4 separate regions of the Homo sapiens genome follow, and all the other regions are linked to region 2. Evidence: promoter capture Hi-C in human tissues and cell types (Jung and others, 2019). All regions are on one chromosome and are shown on one strand. Each heading gives the region's core, a stretch centred on a gene start or on the middle of the fragment in contact. The rest is flanking DNA. Distances are from core to core; before and after follow the strand shown. Region 1 overlaps PRKCB (protein kinase C beta). Region 2 holds the start of ERN2 (endoplasmic reticulum to nucleus signaling 2). Region 3 overlaps PRKCB (protein kinase C beta). Region 4 overlaps PRKCB (protein kinase C beta).

Region 1 (2,927 bases), core at 173-2,672, 310 kb after region 2:
AGCACAGTGCTTGGCAGGTAGTATGTGTTCAATTCAATAAAATTGGTGGCAGTAAAAGTCACATTCGACGGTTATTTTGTTGTTGTATTCAACAATCTCTTGAATAAAGATTGGAAATGGAAGGAAATTTGGGAATCCAAGCTTGCCTAATACCAGGCATGTGGAGATGGAGCCTCAGCAACAGGAAATACTGGGAAGAGGAATCGTGCCAGGATCCTGTGGAAACCTGATTTCCAGGGGTGGGCGAGATGACTGGGGATGATCAAGGGGTGATGCTGCGGCAGGAGTGTAATAGTTTCAAACCTGTTTTTGAGAGCACTTGAGACTGAGTCAGACAAACTCACTCGGGAGTTTAGGGGATGTGTTCACATGGGGTTGGATTCCAGCACTGTTGGGAAGAAGGTAGGGAGTCTGGCAGAGGTCCCAAATCCAAATTCCTACAGGGTCCAGGCAGGAAAGGGGAAAGAGAGAAGCAGGCCTGGTGTAAGACAATAGGGAAGAGTGGGGACTGTGGAAAACTAGAAAGTTTATTACTTATCTAAAGGGGAAAACCACTGCTCAGCCCACAGAAATGAGTGTTCTGTGTTGTCACAGCTGATGATTTCTCAAAAGGAAGCAATATTTCACATTTTTTATTCTTTCTTTCTTTCTTTTTTTTGTTTGAGACAGAGTCTCGCTCTGTTGCCCAGGCTGGAGTGCAGTGGTGCGATCTCAGCTCACTGCAAGCTCCGCCTCCCGGGTTCATGCCATTATCCTGCCTCAGCCTCCTGAGTAGCTGGGACTAGAGGTGCATGCCGCCACGCCCGGCTAATTCTTTTTGTATTTTTAGTAGAGACAGGGTTTCACCGTGTTAGCCAGGATGGTCTCGATCTCCTGACCTCGTGATCCGCCTGCCTCGGACTCCCAAAGTGCTGGGATTACAGGCGTGAGCCACTGTGCCTGGCCAAAATTTCACATTTTAATCTGATAGTTCCTGACTTAAATATAGTAAACTTATTTGGATTTCTAAGAAGCACCTTGTTGGCCAACGGTAGCTTCTTTACAGGCTTGATATAGCTTCTGGGTTCCACACTGTGGCCCCTGGGCATGAAGGAGGGCCCAGGCCAGGGATGGGACAGGCTCTAGGTGGCCTGGAGGTGTCTAGTCAGTGTGGCCTGGGTGACGAGGATCTGATGTAAAATGAGACTAGGGGAGGGATTGAGGCAGAGATGGAAGCTGTGTCTTTTTTTTTGTTTTTGAGTCAGAGTTTCTCTCTGTCACTGGAGTGCAGTGGTGCCATCATGGCTCACTGCAGCCTTGAATTCCTGGGCTCAAGCGATCTTCCCACCTTGGCTGGGATTACAGGCATGAGCCACTGCTCCCAGCCAGGAAGCTGCATCTTTGAATGCGATCAGAACCAAACCCCATAGAGGGAGTGATGGCTTACAGGCCATGAGGATTCCCAGACTCATCTCAGGCTTGGTCAATACCCACAGCATCAAGGCTAGGAAGGGAATGTATTTTGGTTAAAGGCAGGACTGATACTTATTTATTTATTTTGAGACGGAGTCTCGCTCTGTCACCCAGGCTGGAGTGCAGTGGCGGGATCTCGGCTCACTGCAAGCTCTGCCTCCCAGGTTCACACCATTCTCCTGCCTCAGCCTCCTGAATAGCTGGGACTACAGGCGCCCGCCACCACGCCCGGCTAATTTTTTGTATTTTTAGTAGAGACGGGGTTTCACCGTGTTAGCCAGGATGGTCTTGATCTCCTGACCTCGTGATCCGCCAGCCTCGGCCTCCCAAAGTGCTGGGATTACAGACGTGAGCCACCGCACCCGGCCAGGCAGGACTGATATTTAACCTGCATGCCCTGGCACTACTGTACCAGTGGTGGAAATATTGAAATACTCTGAAACCGATGGGTAAATAGCCACTGGGTCCTCTGGGCCTTTTCCCCCAACCTTCCACTTACCCATATCTGCCTCTGCCAGCTCCTACCACACCCCCTCCATGACGTGGTGACTAGAGTGCTAACTCCCAGCACAGCCAGGCTCTGCTGTCCATTCCGTTTGGTCTGTGGGCAGTCCCTGAGCCAAGGCAATTATAGATATCTTGACTCACCCCTGGTTGTAGGTAACATGCCTACCTGGATTGGCTGAAGCACAAAGGACAAATTTTAGAGGACACAGGGAGGCAGATGGAATTGGAAGGCAGGATGCCAGAACCCCAGGGACCAGAACCAGGAGCTTCATCCCTGGGGTCATGTAGTCTTTGTCTTTGTTTCTCCAGGTTCCTCAGAGCGCACCATAAAAATCAGCACCAACTGTCATTTGCTACAATGTGGATGAACCTGGAGGACATTATGCTAAGTGAAATAAGCCAGGCACAGAAAGACAAATACTGCATGATCTCACTTAGATGTGGAATCTAATGAAGTTGAACTCACAGAAGTAGAGAGTAGAATGATGGTTACCAGAAGCTGGGGGACAGCAGGAGGCAGGAGTAGGGAAGAAATGGAGAGTTGCTGAGCAAAGAGTACAATGTTTCGGATAGGAGGAATTGCCTTTGAGATCTATTGCACAGCAGGGTGACATTAGTCAATAATATGTATGTTTCAAAGTAATTAAGAGAGTAAATTTCAAATATCTCAAGCTAAGAAAATGATAGGCAAGTTAGGTGATGGATATGTTAATTTTCTTGATTTAATCATGCCACATTGTGTGTGTATATTCAGAACAATCAGAACAATCACATTGTACCCCATAAATGCATACAATTATAATTTGTCAATCAAATATAAAATTAGCAGCCTCAGCCCTGGAACTGTATGTCTGCTGGCCTCAGGACTGATTACCTGTGTCCCAGCCACTCAGCATATGTGACCCTTGAGCCAAGTGTCCACCTCTGCCCCAGTCAGCTGTGTTCAGGGAATGTGGATGTCTCAAAGT
Region 2 (2,788 bases), core at 15-2,514:
CACCCGTACTTACATCTGGCGATCCTGGGCTCACTCACCTGCTCCAGTCCCTCCTTGAGCAAACAGGGTGAGGCTGAGCTCCCAGCAGGAGGCCTAACATCCGGGTGGCCCAGCCGCACCCCTACAAAGGCCACATCCTGCTTCAGGACCCTCAGGTTTGGGGCTGGGCCACTGGTGTTGAGTGGAGGGTCAGGAAATTATCTGCTAGCCCCTCTTTCTTTCTGGGCTTCAATTTTGTCATCTGCAGCATGGCAGGAGGGAGAACGGTTTGGAGAAGAGGCTGCAGATTGGTTGCCCAGAAATGAATTTTGTTTGACCATCTAGTGCTTAAAAATTTTTCAATTAGCTGCCAATTTTTTTAAAAATTGGATGATTTCTACAAAAAAACCAAGATTTCAAATCTTTCTCATTTCTAATTTTTCCAGAGACATCCGATCTGGCCACACTGGGCTTGCATTCTTAGCTGGCAACCATGAGGTGGACCCATGAGGTGGAAGCCGGGAATGAGAGGTGCCTAACTCTACCTGATCGCTTTTGCCCCATGGGGGTTCTAGGCGGGACACCTGGATTCTTAGGCCAGGCGACTTTTGCCTCCTGGCTGCATTTCTGTAAGACTCTGCTATTCCTGGCACCGTGGGAGCAGATACTGACACTCCCAGCTCATTTATCCCATAGGTTCTGAACCTGGGGTGCAGCCATGGGTAAGGGGACCGTATTGTAAAGCCTCTGAAATTGCAAAACTGGGCGTGCAGGCTCATTTCTCAGCAGAGGGCCCTGAAGTCAATCATATTTTCAAAGGAAGCCAGGATTCCCAGAAGTTTTAAGAGGCCTGGCTTTCGTGCCCAGGTGCCCCCCTACCCCAGACTACACCTCTCCCTGCTGAAGAGGCGGGGTGCTCTGTCTACTCTTGCCTTTCCACGCTGGCAGATCTCCCCAGCTAGGTATTTGTTGGGGGCAACTGGCGGCTCCCCAAACCCAGGAGGCTTTTACTCCGTTGGGGCCGAGTTGGGACCACCCAGGCGTGAGGGAGGGAGAGGTGCCCCCGTGGCCCCGCCGCGCCCTCGCCCCAAGTGCGACGCCGCCCCCTGCGCCCCGCGACCAGACTTTGGGGACTTGGCGTCGGTCCCTGGCTCTCACCTGTGGACTCAGCGTCCCGAGCAGCAGCGCCGCGAACTGGAGCTGGAGCCCCAGCCGGGGCCACGGCCTCGACCCCCTGACCGCACTCGCCATAGCGCCTGGGCAGCTGCACGGCTGGCCAGGTCCCTGGGTGCCTCCAAGGGAGCGCTCTGTCCCCGCCCGACCCGGAGAAGGCTCCGCCCCTGGCTGGGCCTGCAACCCCAGCCTGGAGTCCTCGCCGATCCCCGCCCTTCTCATCACACTCCCAGCCGCATCCTCGCGTCCCAGTCACCCCACCAAACACGGTGGGGCGCTTTCCCGGGAGAGGGATTTTACTGAGCCCACTTATGGAGAACTTGCCACGTGCCGAGGACCGTGCCGGTTCATCATCAGTTCCTGGAGTCCTCACTGCACAGCAGGTACAAGCGGAGGCTGAGAGCCGCAGTCCCAATACAGATCCGCCTGATCTCAAAGCCTGCGCTCTTTATCATTGCACCAGCGGATCCCGGTGGGCTATCAGGAAATAGCGATTAATTGGTGAATTCAGTCGTTCGTTCAATAAATATTTATTATGGGTCAGGTAAGTGGCTCACCTCTGTAATCCCAGCACTTTGGGAGGCCTAGGAGGGAGGATCACTTGAAACCAGGAGTTGGAGACCAGCAACATAGTGAGACCCCATCTCTACAAAAAAAAATGGCCAGGTGTGGTGATGTCCACCTGTAGTTCCAGCTACTCGCGAGGCTGAGGTGGGAGGATTGCTTGAGCCAGGAAGTCAAGGCTGCAGTGAGCTATAACTGTGCCATTGCACTCCAGCCTGGGCGACAGAGAGAGACACACTCTCCAAAAATAAAATAAATAAATAAATATGCATGTATTTATTTTTTGAGACAGAGTCGATCTTGTCACCCAGGCTGGAGTGCAATGGCACTATCTTGGCTAACTGCAACCTTTGCATCCTGGGTCCAAGCAATCCTCCTCCCGAGTAGCTGGGATTAAAAATGTGGGCCAACATGCCCAGCTAATTTCTGTATTTTTAGTAGAGATGGGGCTTCACCACTTTGGCCAGGCTGGTCTCAAACTCCTGACCTCAGTTGATCCGCTCACCTCGTCCTCCCAAAGTGCTGGGATTACAGGCATAAGCCACCGCGCCCAGCCAATAAATATGCATTTATTATAAGCTATGACATGCCTGCCTGATGAACAAGATGATGAGGTCCCTGTCTTCGTAGAGCTTAGAGATTCCTATGCCTTAGATGTAAGACAACTCCGCATGGAAGGGCACCTTCTAATGGCCGTGACCACCCTTGCTCCTGGTAGATGTCTCCAGTTTTGTTCAGAGAGGGTCTGCCAGGGTCCTTGAAGGTAAGGTCCACCCTGTTTGCAAGTTTCAACTCATTCATGTCTCCTTCATCCTTGTGTAAAAATAAAAAAAAAAAAATCCCTGCTGATTTGAGGGTCATGCAGCCCAGCTCTGCCACCTTCTCCCCGTCCTCTTTGTCATCCTTGGCCCTCCTGGTCATCCCCTCACAGTTACTGAAAACTTGGTAGCTTGGCCCCTAGCCTTCATCTCCATCACAAATCCTGCCACTCTCCTTGGTGTCTTCAATGTCCAAGGTACAGCTTAGCCAGCATTGCAGCCTCTCAGTGGGTGTACCTCTTTGGAGACCTTAT
Region 3 (2,974 bases), core at 88-2,587, 420 kb after region 2:
GCACTGTGCCTGGTGGGTTTTGATGGAGAAGTCAGCCCTATGTTCCAGCTCCAGCATCTCAATAGCACCTCCCTCTGCAGCCTCCAAACTTTTCTTCCCAAAGGCCAGGGTGCTTAACTACCATGCTCTGTGAGCATGAGAGAGCATTCCAGAGTTCCAGGCCCCAGACCTCAGTGTCCCTTTTTTTTTTTTTTTTTTTTCCTTTTTGAGACAGAGTCTTGCTCTGTTGCCCAGGCTGGAGTGCAGTGGGGTGATCTTGAGTCACTGCACCTCCCAGGTTCAAGCAATTCTCCTGCCTCAGCCTCCCGAGTGGCTGGGATTACAAACGCCTGCCACCACGCCCAAGTAATTTTTATGTTTTTAATAGAGACAGGGTTTCACCATGTTGGCCAGGCTGGTCTCGAACTCCTGGCCTCAAGTGATCCGCCTGCCTCAGCCTCCCAAAGTGATGGGATTACAGGCTTGAGCCACCACACCTGGCCTCACAGCATCATCTGCTGGAGCCAAGCCCGGCACCAGATTTTAACAGGAAGAAATTGCCTGAGGAGATTAAAAGGCAGCTTAGTTCATGCCAGGAACAAAGGCCTTCTCTAAAGTCTGAGCTTCTGTTGTGGGAGTCTCTACTAATTTTAATCTCATTAGTGGTATGTATTCACACACAGACATATACATACATACATTAGATGTGGTTATATAATCCTACAGACAAAAGCACTTCCCTGTACTTCAGCCTGCTTTGCTATCTTCCTGCACCATATGGTGAGTTCCTTTATCATATGGTTCACAGATAGCTCAAAGTGTTTGCTACCTGTTTCCTTAATCCTCTTCCAGAGAACCTTTTTGACATTTGCTGTCTGATCTTGGATTCCTGCCTTCTCTTTGGTTCTATCGCAATTATGTCACTTCCCTGCCCCCACCAAGCCTTCAACCTTTCCTTCTTTCATATGCAATTCTGATTGCAGCGTGTTTTTTTTTTTTTTTTTGCCAACTCATCTTCCCAGATCCTCGTGAGGCCCTTCTTCCACCTTCCCGAATTTTCCAGGTCTCTCCTCAATGAAGTGACTTACTGCTCTTCCGCAGCCTCTGCCTTCAATTCTCAGAAGGTAGTATGTTACAAGACAAGATAAGGTTCATTTTTCTCAAGAAAATAAATTATATCAAGGAAAATGAAATGTCAGGAATTTAAGTTTTACAACCTTCCATCTGCTGCAAGTAGATTGTCAAGCCAGAGTGAGTAAAGCGGGTATTTGCTGAGAAGACATGGCTTGTTTCTGTGTATCTCAAGACACCCAGAGGCAAGAAGTGCCACCTGAATGAGAGAGCTTCCAGCAGTCTGATAACCATGGCTCCATCTGGGGGGTTGTAGGGGGGCCCCCAGCCTGTCATCCCTGCTTCTCGATGACATCTCTCTGCAGATACGCATCAGCACCACCTCTCTCAGCCTTGTTGATGCTTCTCAAGTCTCCATGTCTAATTCTCACATGTAGAATATCCTAGGAATCTAAAATCCCGGGAAAGAAAAACTGATGGGCCAGTGTGGACCAGGGATCCCTAGGATCCAATTCACTGTGACCGGGGAAGCGGTTACTTTTCCAACCATCCATCAGGAAAGATGACAAGAAAAGCAAATAGGATGTGGGCAGTTTTCCTATGAGAAAGAAGAAAACGACGGGCCTGTCTGGCACACAGGCCAAAGTGGGAGTTTCCTTTAAATGTGTATTATTTTTTATTTTAATTTTTTTATTTTGTTTATTTATTTATTTTTGAGATGGAGTCTCACTCTGTCGCCCAGGCTGGATTGCAGTAGCATGATCTCGGCTCACTGCAACCTCCACCTCCTGGGTTCAAGCGATTCTCCTTCCTCAGCTTCCCGAGTAGCTGGGATTATATGCGCATGCCACCATGCCCGGCTAATTTTTTTTTTTTTTTTGTATTTTTAGTAGAGACGGGGTTTCACCATGTTGGCCAGGCTAGTCTTGAACTCCTGACCTCAAATGATCCATCTGCCTTGGCCTCCCAAAGTGCTGGGATTACAGGTGTGAGCCACTGTGCCTGGCCTTTTATTTTAATTTTTTAGAGACAGCATCTGGCTTTGTTGCCTAGGCTGGAGTGCAGTGGCATGATCTTAGCTCACTGCAGCCCCGAACTCCTGGGCTCAAGCGATCCTCCTGCCTCAGCCTCCCGACTAGCTGGGACTACAAGTGCATGCCATCGTGCCTGGCTCATTTTTGTTTTTTTTCTAGAGATGGGATCTCATTATGTAGACCAGGCTGGTCTTAAACTTCTGGCCACCAGCGATCCTCCTGCCTCAGCCTCCCAAAGCAGTGGGATTACAAGTGTGAGTCACGTCGCTGGGCCCTGTGTTTTCTCTAAAATGTTGCCTGATTCTTTGGGAAAAATATCGCAAAGATAAATCAAGTCCTCTTGTAGAAGGACCAGATAGAGCCCATTAACATGGAAACTCTGTCTCAGGTGATCATTCATGGCTACTGGTCCAATTATTGTGCTATCATGGTACCTGCCATCCTCTGCATATCCATCTCAACTTTATCTCTATGTATTATTTCAGAAATTTACAGTCCTGGTAAAATGAATCCCTGGTTACTAACAGCATAACCCATAATCTTTTCTATAATACAACAAACATAATGGCAGAAATTTGTGGATTGTAATCATCCAACACCCATGATAAATATTTTGGATGTACAAATGTGGATGGTACCTATGATTATTCATGCCGTAGTTGTTTCAAACCCCCACCCCACCCCACAGTTTCACCTTATGTACTGACCTCATTGAACACCACTGCGGAGATTGATAACATTTTTGGAGCACTGGGAACTCATCTGAGTGTTTTATAGGCATTGCTCATTTAATCTTCACCATGGGTCTTGTGAAGTGGGTGCTGTTATTATCTGCATTTTTAAATCTGTAGATAAAGAGACAGAGTCTCTATTTTGCAGATGAGGGAATA
Region 4 (2,700 bases), core at 201-2,700, 290 kb after region 2:
GTGTGCGTGCGTGTGTGTGTGTGCGTGCGTGCGTGTGTGTGTGTGAAATGGAGTCTCTTTCTGTTACCCAGGCTGGAGTGCAGTGGTGTGATCTCGGCTCACCGCAACCCTCCCAGATACAAGTGATTCTCCTGCCTCAGCCTCCTGAGTAGCTCGGATTATAGGCACCCACCACCACGCCTAGCTAATTTTTGTATTTTTTGTAGAGACGGGGTTTCACCATGTTGGCCAGCTGGTTTTGAACTCCTGACCTCAAGCGTTCTGCCTGCCTCAGCCTCCCAAAGTGCTAGGATTACAGGTGTGAGCCACTGCGCCTGGCCAGCATAGGTGTTTTTTAAGCCTTTGTTTGTGTCACAGTGGTTATGGACAAGATCAGATTTGGGGTGGAGAAACAAACTTCATCTCTGGATGGGAAGAATAGCAAAGTCACATGGCCAAGGAGCATGCGGGGATGGGAGACATTGGTGGCCATTGTGCAGTCTACCACACTGACCCTTATCTGCTGTGCCAGATGCCTCGTTTGCCCTTCCAATCCACTCTGCTTTCTCTGAGAGACTAAGCCATAATGACTGCTTCAACTGGGGCTCCCTTACCCTCTGACCTGACCTCTGGTTGGACTCAAGGGGAGGGGCTAATAGGAGACTTGGGGAGGGGAGAGTGAGACCCTCCCCGAGTCAGTCAGTATTTATTATGGAGTCATCTTCACTCTACCTTTTGACTATAGGTTGCTGCTCCTCTACAGATCATCTTCTCTATGTAATTCTCTCCTTCTGGGTTCCAGGAGCTACTCCCTTCCTTTGTCCTCTGGCTCTTACTAGCCTCCAATCCCTTATACTTTCCCAACACCATGCCCACACCTTTAGAAACAGTCCTTTCATTGAACCTTTCTTAAACACTCTTCACTTTAGTATGCCATCTGTTTCCTGCGGGGCCCCTGACTGATGCATCTGCTTTGTCTTGCCTCATTTGCTCCTGCTGTAGATGGAACATGTCTGCAAACATCGTTACAGTTGACCCCATGGAAAGATGGCAACCCTAGTGGAGGAATTAGCCTTCTTCCTGCATTCGTTTTTTTTTTTTTTTTGAGACAAAGTCTCGCTCTGTTGCCCAGGCTGGAGTGCAGTGGTACGATCTCAGCTCACTGCAACCTCTGCCTCCTGAATTCAAGCAATTCTCCTGCCTCAGCCTCCCAAGTAGCTGGGACTACAGATGTGCACCACCATACTCAGCTAATTTTTGTATTTTCAGTAGAGATAAGGTTTCAGCATATTGGCCAGGCTGGTCTCGAACTCCTGATCTCAAGTGATCTCCCTGTCTCAGCCTCTCAAAGTGCTAGGATTACAGGCGTGAGCGACTGCACCCAGCCATCTTCCCTGCATTCATAATTGATCTCAGAAAATGTTCTGATGGAGTTGGTTCTCTATCACTGGGAGAACGAACTCTTATAACCTCAGACCTGGATCCCATGGCATCCCTTTCACCCAGGAGCAGTGTATGTTATAAGAAGAGTGAAGGAGAAACTTTGATGCGCTGATGAAAGTAATAACTAATTATTATAAGCTTGCTTAACCACAATAACCGCTATTACCTAGTAAAGTTGGCATAAAAAGTAAACTACAAGCCAGTCTCATACATGAGTCTAGATGAACATATCCCAAATAAAATAGTGAATGCTATTTTATTGTTGTCACGGACATTATGCATTCAAATAATGTGGAGGAAACAATCTAGAGATAAAACAACAAAGAAAATTATGATCAATATAACAAAATATAGGAATAAAGATAAAAATATGCCAGCAAGGAACCGTGGAATCTGGAAAGCATAAATTTAGATGGTAGAAGTGATAGCAGAATGTTACCCAACCAATGTAAATGGATTGAAATTCTCTACTGAAAGGCAAAGACTATGAGATTGGATGAGCAATGTACAACTCTTGGCAGTGTATAAAAGATGCTTAAAGCACAGGTTTTAAAAATAAAAGGGACAAAAGTGTATCATGAAAATACATATATAAAAATGAAACATGGTCTTAATAATGATATCAAAAGAAATAGGACTCAAAACAAAAAGCATAAACGGGGGCAGATGTCCCAGCAGATCACTTGAGCTCAGGAGTTTGAGACCAGCCTGGGCAACATGGCGAAACCAAGTCTCTACAAAAAAAAAAAAAAAAAAAAGAAAAAATTAGCCAGGCATGGTGGCATGCACCTGTAGTCCCAGCTACTCAGGAGGCTGATGTGGGAGGATCACTTAAGCCTGGGAGGTGGAGGCTGCAATGAGCTGTGATTGCACCACTGCACTCCAGCCTGGGCAACAGAGTGAGATTCTGTCTCAAATAAACAAAACTAAACAAAAACATAAAACAGGGAAGGAGAAAACATGAACTCTAATGCATTACTGGTGAGTGGCAAATTAGTATATGTTTTCTAAAGAGCAAATTTTCCATACATATCCAGAGCTTTAAACACATTTTTGACCTAAGAATTACTAAATCTAATCATTTTGACCTAAGAATGACAATTCTAGGAATTTTTGGTAAGAAACCATTTCAGGATAAATGCATAGATTTATCTAGAGTGATATTCATTGCATCAGTATTTATAATATCAAAAATTTGAAAATGACCCAAGTCTCACTACCAATTAGAGTTTATATAAGTAAAATATATTACAGTCATATGGTGGAATGCTGGCCAGT

What was found. The method cuts DNA at HindIII sites, captures the fragments that hold promoters and counts their contacts. A contact is called where the count stands out against the background at its distance.
Region 1: a contact is called between a fragment that was not itself captured here and the fragment with the promoter of ERN2 in region 2, in 1 of the 25 tissues and cell types used here (dorsolateral prefrontal cortex).
Region 3: a contact is called between a fragment that was not itself captured here and the fragment with the promoter of ERN2 in region 2, in 2 of the 25 tissues and cell types used here (lymphoblastoid cells and spleen).
Region 4: a contact is called between a fragment that was not itself captured here and the fragment with the promoter of ERN2 in region 2, in 2 of the 25 tissues and cell types used here (liver and spleen).

What each region holds. Positions count from the first base shown.
Region 1 is chr16:24,021,848-24,024,774 of GRCh38, forward strand. The region is part of intron 3 of PRKCB (protein kinase C beta); the gene reads left to right. Among named protein-coding and RNA genes, the nearest start is that of MIR1273H, 180 kb to the right of the region's middle. RefSeq lists an enhancer at 867-1,026. The HindIII fragment of the contact is 5,902 bases long and covers 1-2,927 here.
Region 2 is chr16:23,711,958-23,714,745 of GRCh38, forward strand. ERN2 (endoplasmic reticulum to nucleus signaling 2) reads right to left here and starts at 1,265. Exons shown (of 22, transcript NM_033266.4): 1 at 1,138-1,265. The coding sequence starts at 1,230. The HindIII fragment of the contact is 19,919 bases long and covers 1-2,788 here.
Region 3 is chr16:24,135,131-24,138,104 of GRCh38, forward strand. The region is part of intron 9 of PRKCB (protein kinase C beta); the gene reads left to right. Among named protein-coding and RNA genes, the nearest start is that of MIR1273H, 66 kb to the right of the region's middle. RefSeq lists enhancers at 486-1,021, 1,558-2,093, 2,094-2,629 and a silencer at 2,958-2,974. The HindIII fragment of the contact is 3,515 bases long and covers 1-2,974 here.
Region 4 is chr16:24,002,319-24,005,018 of GRCh38, forward strand. The region is part of intron 3 of PRKCB (protein kinase C beta); the gene reads left to right. Among named protein-coding and RNA genes, the nearest start is that of PRKCB, 170 kb to the left of the region's middle. The HindIII fragment of the contact is 9,013 bases long and covers 1-2,700 here.